2 separate regions of the Homo sapiens genome follow, and region 1 is linked to region 2. Evidence: promoter capture Hi-C in human tissues and cell types (Jung and others, 2019). All regions are on one chromosome and are shown on one strand. Each heading gives the region's core, a stretch centred on a gene start or on the middle of the fragment in contact. The rest is flanking DNA. Distances are from core to core; before and after follow the strand shown. Region 1 overlaps AFAP1L1 (actin filament associated protein 1 like 1). Region 2 holds the start of SLC26A2 (solute carrier family 26 member 2).

Evidence for each region. Contacts are between HindIII fragments. The study calls those that stand out against the background at their distance.
Region 1: a fragment that was not itself captured here is called in contact with the fragment with the promoter of SLC26A2 in region 2 in 1 of the 25 tissues and cell types used here (IMR-90 fibroblasts).

What each region holds. Positions count from the first base shown.
Region 1 is chr5:149,321,730-149,328,200 of GRCh38, forward strand. It overlaps AFAP1L1 (actin filament associated protein 1 like 1), which reads left to right. Exons shown (of 19, transcript NM_152406.4): 15 at 877-988. It overlaps LOC124901103 (a long non-coding RNA gene), which reads right to left. Exons shown (of 2, transcript XR_007058989.1): 2 at 2,492-3,185. Among named protein-coding and RNA genes, the nearest start is that of GRPEL2, 21 kb to the right of the region's middle. RefSeq lists enhancers at 385-911, 912-1,437. The HindIII fragment of the contact is 6,826 bases long and covers 1-6,213 here.
Region 2 is chr5:149,959,100-149,965,465 of GRCh38, forward strand. SLC26A2 (solute carrier family 26 member 2) reads left to right here and starts at 1,659. Exons shown (of 3, transcript NM_000112.4): 1 at 1,659-1,880. RefSeq lists enhancers at 75-678, 475-554 and a silencer at 1,595-1,714. The HindIII fragment of the contact is 6,337 bases long and covers 1-4,304 here.

The sequences.
Region 1 (6,471 bases), core at 1,551-4,050, 640 kb before region 2:
AAAAAAAAAAAAAAAAAACAACGTTTAGGCTGGGCGCAGTGGCTCACACCTATAATCCTAGCACTTATAGGAAGCTGAGGTGGGTGGATCACTTAAGCCCAGGAGTTTGAGACCAGCCTGGCCAACATGGCAAAACCCTGTCTCTACAAAAATTAGCTGGGCATGGTGATGCACATCTGTTGTCCCAACTACTCGGGAGGCTGAGGTGGGAGGATCACTTGAGTCCAGGAGGTTGAGGCTGCAGTCAGCCATCATCACACCGCTGCACTCAAAAAAAGAAATTAGGACAGTGCCTAGACATTGGAAGGTCCTATACAGAGAAGTAGATAGTACTGTTGTTGACAACATCATTATTATATTACATTATTATCATATTTAACTCATGGTTTCCTAAGCTTTCACTGGATTTTTAGTATTCTTAATATTCTTCATGCACAAATGTATAGTTAATCTATTAAGTTATGTCACTTCTATCACTGGCTCATCTCATCCAGGACTTTTCTTCTTGAGGGAAGACTGTTTTCTTTTTGAGGCAATTCAGAAAATCAGGATACTTCCAAATGTTCTAAAGACAAAAGTATCGATGATAAATCAAATATAGCCACCCACAGTCTTTTGAGACTTTCTAATTTTCCTCTCAGCAGGTGCTGCAGTTTAGGGTTGCCTTCTGCTGCCCCCCAGCAGAAAGGTATGAGGTTCAAATGATATACTGCTAGCAAAAGTGCTTTATGATTTTTGAGTGCTATGCAAGTCTAAAAATGTAAGACCAAGATCTCAGAGCAAGAAGACTCCATACTGAGCAAAGACCGCAATACACCCTGCATTGATGAGTCTGCGCCTGCCTGAACTTGACTGTCTTCCTCCATCTCCCACCAGGACGAGGAGCCCGAGCGCCCCACAGGGGCCCAGGTGAAGCGTCACGCCTCCTCCTGCAGTGAGAAGTCCCATCGTGTGGACCCGCAGGTCAAAGTCAAACGCCACGCCTCCAGTGAGTTGTGTGTGGGCCTCCCCTGCTGACTAGGGAGGAAGGAAAGGAAGCAGTCTATAGGAGGGATCTCAAAATCAGTTTCCCTGGTGGGTAAATAAATGAGCAAAGTGAGATGCAAGAAAATACTCTACCGTAAGAAAAATCACAGAGCAAGCACAATGATAAAGGGCAGCTAGCATGTGGCCTCAGAGGGAAAATGACAGGGAGTTGGGGGGTGGGGAGGTACTGTAGGAAACCGGTACCCAGTTTTCTCAGGTCCCAACTATAGGGGAGGCTGCTGCTCAGCTCCAGCAGATGATCCCTATGCAGCAGTACCAGGCCCCTAACACCAGATTTGCCAATTACTTAAAAGAGGCCAGAAATCTAGAATTTAGGTGAAGTCTACTTATTTTTTAATATCAGCAACTATTTTTTTTTAATTTAGCACCAAATGAGGCCAAATAGAGAGAGAGAGATTGATGACAAGCTGTATCTGTTTCAGAGGCTAACAATTTGTGATTTCTGAACTGGGGTAGTAAGTGGAGAACTGAACCTATCCAAATACCCTGGAGCCAGCTCCCATGAAAGCCACAGCTCACCTTGGTGTCCCACCCTAGCTCTGCCTAGCACCCCCCAGGAGCTCAGTGAATTGCCTGATTACCACACTGCACAATAATGACTAAGTACACCAGGCAACTCTGTTGTAAATTCTCTTTTACTTCCAACAGTAATCTGTGCTTCTGTGTGATTTATCTTTATGAACAAGCCAGCTTCCTGTGGGACAGCATGTTCCAAAAGTTTTTTCTTTGTTCCTTTACATTTCTTCCCCCTGCATCTCAACAGAGTCAAGTTCTGTTCTGTGCTTTTTGAAAATCTACTTTTATTTTTTAATACCTATTTTTAAAAAATACTTTTCTGTATTATAGCTCCATTTCATTTGTATAGATCATCCCTTCTGAGGGTCAGGAAATCTGTATTCCATTCCTCATTCCTCCCTTGACTACTGAATTACTGTGTACCTCTGGGAAAAGTCCTTTCCCCTCTCTGGGCCTGAGTTTCCTCTCTGAACAATCAGAAGGTTGTTGTGTAACTTTGCACTCTACTCTCAGAGGCACTGGAAATGCAGGGCCTTGTGAAATGCCCATTTTAAAATGGAAATCTAAACTGAAAAAAGCATGTAAGATTAAAGAAATCACCGAATGTCAACGACAACAACAAAAAACTAACAAACACACACAAAAAAGCAGACCCTTTCTTCAAATCAAATCTTATATGAAAGCCCAGTTTATAAAAGAAAAATAAAAGTGGAGCTACTCTGGTTGAGGCCCACTTGGCCTCCACTTTTCCTGTTAGCCATCACTGTGGGGTCATAAGCTTCCTTGAAGGGCAGTGGGAAACCACAGTGGAAAACTACTGATGAATTCCAACAAGGTTGTTTTTTAGATGAAGAAACTGAAGAAAATAAAAGGGAAGATATCTTAGTCCATTTCTCCTGCTATAACAAAATCCCATAAGCTGGGGAACTTATAAATAACAGAAATTTATTTCTCATTGTTCTGGAGGCTGGGAAGTCTGAGATCAAGGTGGCAGCCAATTTGGTGTCTGGTGAGGGCCTGTTTCCTGGTGATGACCATCTTTTTGCTCCCTGGGGTCTCTTTCCTAAGGGCACTAATCCTACCCATGAGGGCTCCACCCTCGTGACCTAATCACCTACCAAAGGCCCCACCTCCAAGTGCCATCTCGAAGGGGATTAGGTTTCAACATATGAATTTTGGGGGATGTAAACATCTAGTCTATAGCCAAAGGATTTTGCCCACGATCATGTATTAATTGCCTATTGCTACATAAGAAATTACCCAAAATTTAGCTCCTCTAAACAATAAGCAGGAACATGTGTTATGTCACACGGTTTCTGTGGGTCAAGAATCTCCAAATGGCTTGGATAGATAGTTCTGGCTTGGGGTCTCTCATGAGATCTCAAGACGTTGGCCGGTCATCTGAAGTCACCTAAAGGCTTGACAGGCTGAAGGATCCACTTCTAAGATGGCTCACTGCATGCCTGGCAAGTTTGTGCTGGTTGTTGGAAGGAGGCCTCAGTTCTTTGCCATGGGGATTTCTTCATAGAGTTGCTTATCCTTGTGATGTGACAGCTGGCTTCCCCCAGAGCAAGCAACCCAAGAAGGAACAGCAAGGCTGATGCTGCAAGGTCTTTTATGACCTATGGTTAGAAGTTACACTCTGTCATTCTCCAATATCCTAATGGTTACACAGGTCAGCACTGTTTAGTGTGGGAGGGGACTATAAAAGGGCATGAATATCAGGAAGCAAGAATCATGGAGGCCAAGTAGATGATTGCTGAGAAAAATGGTGGCGTGAGAAGCTGCATGGACCCACTCCCTAGCAAAACAGCAGTAGCTGGTGAAATTTATTAAAACAAACAATTACTTAAAGTCTGGAAATTTTCCTAAGGGCAAATGAAGAAACATTTACTCTAGAAAATTTGCTAAATCTTAGTAAGAACAGTGAGAGTTTGTGGCATTTGAGCCACAACCTACCCCTTTATTCCCCAACTCAGTTTGAAAGAATCTTCACTCCAGGCATGTCTGGACAAGAAAACAGGGCTCCTTCTTCCCCCAGCTGCCAGTCAAGGGCTACAGTATCTCCCCAGGAAGGGCAGGCTGCCAGTATTTTTTGTCATACCCAGCTCCATGCTGTAGAGGCTAAATTCTAGGTGATTGCAGCCAAGAGGTAGGAAGCTCCCTTCCTCTACCCAGATGATAGAGCAAAGGCTTTGCCCCAGGTAGGGTAAGCCAAGAATACTGGGGCCCTGATTGCCCTCATCCTAGCTCACTTGTAAGGCAGAGGTTCCATGCTGGGAGAGGCAAGCAGAGTAGACCAGAGGTTACTGCCCCCACCCAGCACCCTGCTCATAACAGGAATGTCACTCCAAGAGAAACAGGCTCTTAATTTGTTTTGTGCTGCTATAACAGAATAACAGAGACTGAGTAATTTATAATGAACAGAAATTATTAGCTCCTAGTCTGGAGGCTGGAAAATCCAAGATCAAGGTGTTGACATCTAGCAAGGGCCTTCTTGCTGCATCATCACATGGCAGAAAATGGAAGGGCAAAGAGGCAAAAGGGGGTTGAATTTGCTCTCTTTTAATGGCATTAATCCCATCCATGAAGGCAAAGCCCTCATGGCCTAAATCACCTCTCAAAGTCCCATCTTTTCATACTGTTACAATTGCAGTTAAATTTCATTATGAGTTTTGGAGGGTACGAACATTCAAACCACAGCACAGGCCATTGTTCCCACCCCTGGATCCAGAGCAGTGACTCAGAGATTTTGCCGAGTGGGGAAAGGCAGGCCATAAGAACAGAGAACTCCAAAGCTCTTCCTCGAAAGAACTGACTTTAGTTGGAACAGAGTGTGGGAAAGTGTAAACCAAAGGGTGCTCTCAAAAACAATGGAGATTTGGTGGTTATGAGAACAATAAACTAAACCACAGGCTAGTTTATCAGAGAGAACCACAGAAAGAGACAGCTAAAATTGCCCTCAGCCGGGCGTGATGGCTCACCCTTGTCATCCCAACACTTTGGGAGGCTGAGGCAGGTGGATCACTTGAGGCCAGGAGTTCAAGACAAGCCTAGCCAACATGGCAAAAGCCTGTCTTTACTAAAAATACAAAAATTAGCCAGGCATGGTGGCGGGCACCTGTAATCCCAGCTACTCGGGAGGCTGAGGCACAAGAATCGCTTGAACCCAAGAGGCAGAGGTTGCAGTGAGCCCTGATGGTGCCACTGCACTCCAGCCTGGGCGACAGAGTGAGACCCTGTCGCCAAAAATAAAAAAAAAAAAAAAAAGAAAGAAAAATATATATATATTTAAAAAGAAATTTTTTAAAATAAAAAGAGCCCTCCTAGGGTTAGAACAAATCTCAAAGATGGGCCTCCAGAACTATCCTGTAAAGGGGCTGAATTTAATTGGATCAGGCTGTGGAGTAATTGATGCATTGTCAAAATCAATAGAGCAAACACCTGACAATTAGTAGAGCTGGGTGTAATAGCAACAGAGGCCGACTGCTTAACAGGAGATTAGGAAAAGAGTCAGAAATCCCTGCTAATACGCTGTCACCCCAGAGTGACTGTACACATGCCAAGGCTATGGCCTCTGAGGAGCAACATCAGTGGCTTCATACTTCAAGAGGAAGTAGACTACAATAAAATAGTTCAGACAAGTCACTAAACAAATAAGAAAATAACAACCCAACAACCCGGTTGGGGGGATGCATATCAAAAGATACTACAATATATTCTCGAAAATGACCAGTTTTCAACAAAAATTTATGACACACATGAAGAAGCAGGAAAATGTGACCCATACAGAAGGAAAAAAATCAAGCAACAGAAACTGCCTGAGAGAGGGCCCAAATGTAGAATTTAACAAAGATTTCAAAGCAGCCATTATAAATATATTTAAAGAACTTAAGGAAACCATGCTTAAAGAAATAAAGGAACAGAAGATGACAGTGTATTAACAGATAGTCTGTATTATTGATAGCCTATATTATTGGTAGTCTCTATCAATATATTATTGATAATAGCTCATTCCTCCTGCTATAACAAACTTCCATAAGCTGGGTAACTTATAAACAACAGAAATGTATTTCTCATTGTTCTAGAGAAATTGGCTTCATACTGCAGGAGGAAATAGACTATACTGAGTACTACACTACACTAGACTGTACACTACAGTATACGTATATGGAACTACACTACAGTTATATGGAATATAGCTATATGCTTACTATATTATACTATACTATATAGTATAGTCATATGGAATATATTATTGATAATATATTGATGGGGCCTCCAATAGAAAGATAGAAATTATAAAAAGAAGAACCAAATAAAAATCATGAGGCTGAAAAGTACAATAACTGAAACGAAAAACTCACTCAATGGGCACAACAGTAAATTTGGCCTGGTAGAAGAATCAGTGAACTTGATGACAGAAAAATAGAGATTATGCAAACCAAGAACAAAGAGAAAAAAAGAATGAAGAAAAATGACAGAGCCTCAGAGGATTGTGGAACACCATTAAGTGCACAAACATATGTGTAGAGGGAGTACTAGAAGGAGAAGAGAGAGAGAGACAGACAGATGAGCATAAAAAATATTCAAATAATGGCTGAAACTTGCCAAATTTATTGAAAAACATTAATCTATACATCCACGAAGCTCAGTGAAATCCAAGTAAGATAAAGGCAAGGAGATCTACAAAAGAGACATCATGGTAAAAATGCTAATACCAAAGACAAGGAAAAAATCTTGAAGGCAGAAGAGAAAATCAGGTCATCATGTATAAGAGAACCCCAGTAACATTAACAGCTGACTTCTCATCAGTAACAATGAAAGCCAGAAGGCCCTCCATGCTGTATTTATGATCAGGCTTGAACTGCAGGTAGTTGTGTCAGGAACAGATTTTTGCATGGGTCA
Region 2 (6,366 bases), core at 409-2,908:
AGCACAGTGAGTGTAGTGGTTAAGAGTGGGCTTTGCAGTCAGACGTGACTGTGTTAAAATCATGCTACTGTCACTTATTAACTGTGGGACGTTGGGCAGATCACCTAACATCTCTGAGCCTCATTTCCTCACCAAAAAAAAGAAGAATCATAATATGGCACCTCCTCTAAAGCTGTTGTGAGGATTAACTCATGTAATGAATGTGAAGAGTTCTGCGCAGGCACGTGATAAACATCCAGAAACTGTTTATTCTGCTTGTTGTGCAGTCTTTAGGGCTTAAACAAAGTACTTTACACTGATTGCCTTACCTGACCCTCTCCAGGACTCTGGGTGCTAGGGCATTAACTACCCTTTGAAAGGTGAAAACATTGATGCCCATTGAGGTGAAATGATTTGTCTTCAGCCACAAGGGGCAGCATCAGGAGTAGAACCCAAGTGTTTGTGTTCTGATTCCCAAGACAGCTTATGACGTTTTGGAAACTCTGAATCTGATGGGTGACAGAAACTTGGGGATCATCTCTAGATAAGAAAGGGAGTTCCTTGAATGACTGTGAAGACGTTCACCGGAAAGGGAAGGAAAGGAAGTTAATCATGCTTCCTTCACAGGCCCTCCTTCACCCCCATCTAGTGGGCACATGCAAGCTACAAACAAGGTGAGGAATGAACAAATTAATACATACTCAATAGTGGCCAGTTCGAGGCAGATAATTAAATCAAGATGACCTGAAAGGATGTGACTGGCTGTGGCTAGTTTACACAGGGTGGTCAGGGACGGCCTCGCCATGGAGAGGGCTGGTGTTTTGGCTGAGACCTGAGAGACCAGAAGAAATCTGATGGCCAGAACCAATGTTTAGGTCCCTAAAGAGAACAAGCGTGGCGAGCAAAGGGGGCCAGTATGGGTGGAGATCAGCGAGGGAGGGGGGCAGAGATGAGTGCCCGAAGCACACAGTACCTTGGCATAGGGAGGGTTTGATTTTACCTACAAATGCCATTAAACCCACTAAGGATTTTAACAAAAACTACAATTACATTTTAATTTACATTTTATGTTTTATAGAGACAAGGTTCGGCTATACTGCCCAGGTTGATCTCGAACCCCTGGGTTCAAGCGATCCTCCCTACTCGGTCCCCCAAAGTGCTGGGATTACAAGCGTGAGCCGCTGCGCCCGGCCTTTTAATTTACATTTTAGCCTTCCGGTTACTGGAATCTTTGATGGGGAATGAGTTATAGTGAGGCAAGAGCCTCTAACATTCTAGGAGCTCTTTTCCCGTTCGGGGCCTCAATTTCCCGTTCTACAAAGGCGGGTGGGAGGGAACGGGGTCCCAAGTAGTACTGGATAAAGAGGTGGCCGATCGCAAACGCTGAGCACTTCAAAACTCTGGGCAGAGCGCTTCCGCGCCTCTCCTGCTATTTCACCCTGGCCACAGGCTAGCCGCCGAGGCCGGTCATCCGCTCTCTCCGCGGAGGAGTCAACGCCACGGAAGCAGCGGCGGAACCTCTCTAAGAATCCTTCCAGCTTGTGCTCTTCTGTCCAGGGCAGCCAATCGCGAGGAGGAGAGTAGTCAGAGGGCGGCACCCTCCCCGGTCTGGGCCGAGTTATTGGCTGGTGGTAGCGTCGCTCGCCCGGCAGTACCACGTGACGGCCTCGGCCGCGGGCGTTTACACTGGCTCTGCCTCCGGCATCTCTTCGCCGGTGCGTCCTCGCCGCGCCCGTAGGTCCCGGCAGCCGGGCCCCGCCTCCTTCGGAGTCCGAGCGATGGGCGGGGAAAGGGACAGGCAGGTATAGCTCTGTCGGCGCCGCGGTGTCCACCTCAGTCAGGCCACGGTGGAAGACGCGTGCCGCGGCGCCTGGTTGCCTGCAGCGGCCCGGACCCGAGAGGTGAGAAGAGGGAAGCGGACCAGGGAAGAGGGAGGGAGCGGTGCTGGCCGCCAAGCGGTCAGCGGGCCCCTCCCAGAGTCATTCTGCCTGGGTCCCCGCGCGGTAGAATCCCAGATCAGGGGTCGCCGCCGTGGAGCGGGGCGTGCGTCAGGTTATTTCCCGGGTGGTCCGGGGCCGGGCGAGTGGCACTGCACCCTGGTGATCCGGGCCTGCCCGTCTGGCTGGCGGCTGCCCACCCGCCCTCCATCCCGCGTATCTCGCCGTATCTCGCCGGGTGCCACGCACTCCGCTGCTTTTCCAGTCCTCGTTGATCCGTCTCGAACCTAGATATCTGGAATAGGGATCGAGGAGATAGGAGCCACCACCACCTCGGACAGATGGGGAAACTGAGGCCGGCACAGGCGAGACGGCTTGGTTATCTTGGTTATTAAAAATCACACACCCGATTAAGTACAAAATCAGGACCTGTTCTTTCGGACTCACACACTAAGTTGGTATTATTTCACTGGATGGATGGAAACACTGAGAAGACAGAGAGGGCCCAGAGCCTTGCCTAAAAATACACAGCAAGTCTTTTGCAGAGCTAGGACTTGTACCCAGCTCTCCAAACTCATAGACTATCAGCCTGGGCTCCTTCCTTGCACAGATTGGGGATCACAGTGAGTTAGAAACATTCAGAACTTAAATTGCCTTCCGGCGCCCATTCTAGTTAACCTGTCTTTTCTCCTTGTCCCCAACAGTTCTTTATGTGAAATCTACAACTAATGTGATATGCAATACTAGATTAAGCAGAACTTTTTGTTTTTGAAAATTGAATCAATAAGAAATGGAGGGCCAAAGCTGTGGGAAAGGAATGGACCCTTTAAAATCAGGAATCTCAAGGCAGGATATAGCAAGGGACAGAGACTAATAGCTGTCGTTTATTGAGTAAATGCTATGTGCCAGGCACTGTGGTAGGTAGTTGTGTTAGCCTTACAAACCAGCAAGTTAGGTAATGTTACCCCATTTTACAGGTCAGAAATTGATGCTGAGTACAGTGAAGTTTTACAAAACCATTGCCATATGACTGCTGAGCAGTATAGCTGGGATCTGAACAGAGATCTGTTTGACTTCCAGAACACATCCAGTGATTCTCCAAGTGTGGTCCTAAGCTCACTCGTTCAGCATCATCTAGCGTGTGGAGTCCTGGATCTCATCCTTGGATTTGCAGGGATGGTCCTAAGAAGCTAACGGCTCTCTGTATTTGACAATTATTGTACTGTAATGTGCTGCCTCCTAGGGGAAGATCTAGAGGTGAACATACTCTGGGCTAGGGGTAATTTTTGAGGGAAAAAAATCACTTTTTTTTAATTTCTGATTTGACTTTTTTTTTTTTTGAGACCAGGTCTTACTCTGTCATCCGGGCTAGGAGTGCAGGGGCGCGATCTAGGCTCACTGCAGCATTGACCTCGTGGGTTCAAGCAAACCTTCCACCTCAGCTTCCTGAGTAGCTGGAACCACAGGTGCACGCTGCCATACCTGGCTAGTTTTTGTAGTTTTTGTAGAGATGGTGTTTCACCATGTTGCCCAGTCAGGTTTCAAACTCCTGAGCTCAAGCAATCCTCCTGCCTTGGCCTTCCAAAGTGCTGGGATTACAGGCATGAGCCACTGTGCCCTGCCCACACTTTTATTTTTTATTTTCCCCCATGATTGACAGAAGGATAATCACGCTTTTAGTGAATGTAAACCCCCAGGCAGATGCTTGCCAAGCTTAATTTCTTGACATAAGCTTGGTTTTGGCATGTGGGGGCGGAAGAGTGGGGTTGGAGAGTTAAGTGAGAATGGGGAAAGTAACTCCTTTTTCCTTATCATATAGCTGTTAAATTCTAATTCACTCAACAGATACTTGCTAAGCATTTATTAGGTGCAAGACATGTTCAAGACACTGAGAATACAGCTTTGAACAAAACAGAGCAAGTCAGTGCCCTCATGTGAAAGACAATTAACAATGTGTGGTATGGAATGGTGAGAAGAGCTATGGAGAAAAATAAAGGGCATAGGAGTGCAAGGCAGGGCTGGGCCCAGGAGGAAGACATGGAAATGGCAGCAATGGCAGTGGTGCTATATTTATTTATTTATTTATTTATTTATTTATTTATTTATTTTTTGAGATGGAGTTTCACTCTTGTTGCCCAGGCTGGAGTGCGGTGGCGCCATCTTGGCTCACTGCAATCTCTGCCTCCTGGGTTCAAGTGATTCTCCTTTGTCAGCCTCCCAAGTAGCTGGGATTACAGGCACATGCCACCACGCCTGGCTAATTTTTTTTTTTTTCTTTTTTTGAGACAGAGTCTCACTTTGTCTCCAGGCCGGAGTGCAGTGGCGTGATCTTGGCTCACTGCAACCTCTGCCTCCCAGGTTCAGGTGATTCTCCTGCCTCAGCCTCCTGAGTAGCTGGGACCACAGGCATGTGCCACCACGTCCGGCTAATCTTTTTATTTTTAGTAGAGACGGGGTTTCACCATGTTGGCCAGGATGGTCTCAATTTCATGACCTCGTGATCCGCCTGCCTCCGCCTCCCAAAGTACTGGGATTACAAGCGTGAGCCACCGCGCCTGGCCTAATTTTTTGTATTTTTTAGTAGAGAGGGGGTTTCACCATGTTGGCCAGGCTGGTCTCGAACTCCTGGCCTCAGGTGATCCACCTGCCTTGGCCCCCCAAAGTGCTAGGATTACAGGCATGAGCCCCTGCACCCGGCCTGCTATTTTGCATATTTGTTTAACTTTTTTTTTTTTTTTTTTTTTTTTGTGGAGACAAGATCTTGCTATGTTACCCAGGCTGGTCTCGAACTCCTGGCCTCAAAGTGATCTTCCTGCCTTGGCCTCTCAAAGCGCTGGGATTACAGACATGAACCACTGTGCCTGGCCTCTGTTTTATATATTGTATCTAGGAAGGGACCGATTTATATAAGGTGTCATTTGAGGTTGGGCAATGAGCAAAGGCCCCAAGGGCAAAGGCTGCTTGATATTTTCATGGACTGGTGATTGGAACACTAGTGCATAGGAGGAAGCAAGACAGTGGCAGTTTTAGGCTCATGCATAGAAGCTTATACCAATGTTTTTAGACCATATTTGGTAGGAGATAGGGAGCCAGTGCAGATTTTTGGGGAGCATATCCAAATGGTTGACCTCATCTTGCTAATGAATGCTTCTTTTGAAGAAGAGGCATAGTGCTTTAAAAATGTAGGTTCAGGCTGGGCTCTTCCTTTGCTCATGCCTATAATCCCAGCAATTTGGGAGGCCGTGGCAGGCAGATCACTTGAGCTCAGGAGTTCAAGACCAGCCTGGACAACACGGCGAAAACCTGTCTCTACAAAAAATACAAAAAAATAGCTGGGCATGGTGGCGTGCACTTGTGATCCCAGCTACTCAGGATCGCTTGAGCCCAGGAGGTGGAGGTTGCAGTGAGCTGAGATCATGCCACTGCACTCCAGCCTGGGTAACAGAGTGAGACCCCATCTCAAAAATAAAAATAAAAAATAGCCAGGCGTGGTGGCTCACGCCTGTAATCCTAGCACTTTAGGAGGCCGAGGCGGGCGGATCACGAGGTCAGGAGCTCGAGACCATCCTGGCTAACACGGTGAAACTCTGTCTCTACTAAAAATACAAAAAATTAGCCAGGTGTGGTGGCGGGCACCTGTAGTCCCAGCTACTTGGGAGGCTTAGGCAGGAGAATGGCATGAACCCAGGAGGAGGAGCTTGCAGTGAGCCAAGATTGTGCCACTGCACTCCAGCCTGGGCAACAGAGTGAGACTCTGTCTCAAAAATAAAAAATTAAAAAAAAAATGTAGGTTCAATATTAGAGGAAACTGAGTGACCATTATACAGGAACTGTGTACTATTTTTACAGCTTTTCTGCAAGTCCACAGTTATTTCAAAATAAAAATTTTTTTTAAATGTAGGTTCAATAAAGTGTTTAAGGCTGAACTATGCCTGCAACTTTCAAATAGTTGAAAAACAATAATGACAAAACCCATATAAGTATGGAGAGAGAGTGTGTTAACATCTTATGAACTGTAAAATTGCTAAATAGGTGAATTGTTAGTATGGAAGTGTTCCATGTATCATTCTTTCAACTTTTCTGAAGATTTAAAAACAGCTTCAAAATAAGCAATCAAGCGACAGTATACGTTTGAATCAGGCAGGCTTGTTCAAGTCATGATTCCCCTACTTACAAGCTGTGTGTGGCTGGGCGCGGTGGCTCACGCCTGTAATCCCAGCACTTTGGGAGGCCGAGGCAGGCGGATCACAAGGTCTGGAGATGAGACCATCCTGGCCAACATGGTGAAACCCTGTCTCTACTAAAAATACAAAAATTAGCCGGGCATGGTGGCAGGCGCCTGTAGTCCCAGCTACTCAGGTGGCTGAGGCAGGAGAATCGCTTGAACCTGGGAGATGGAGGTTGCAGTGAGCCGAGATCACACCACTGCATTTCAGCCTGGGCAACAGAG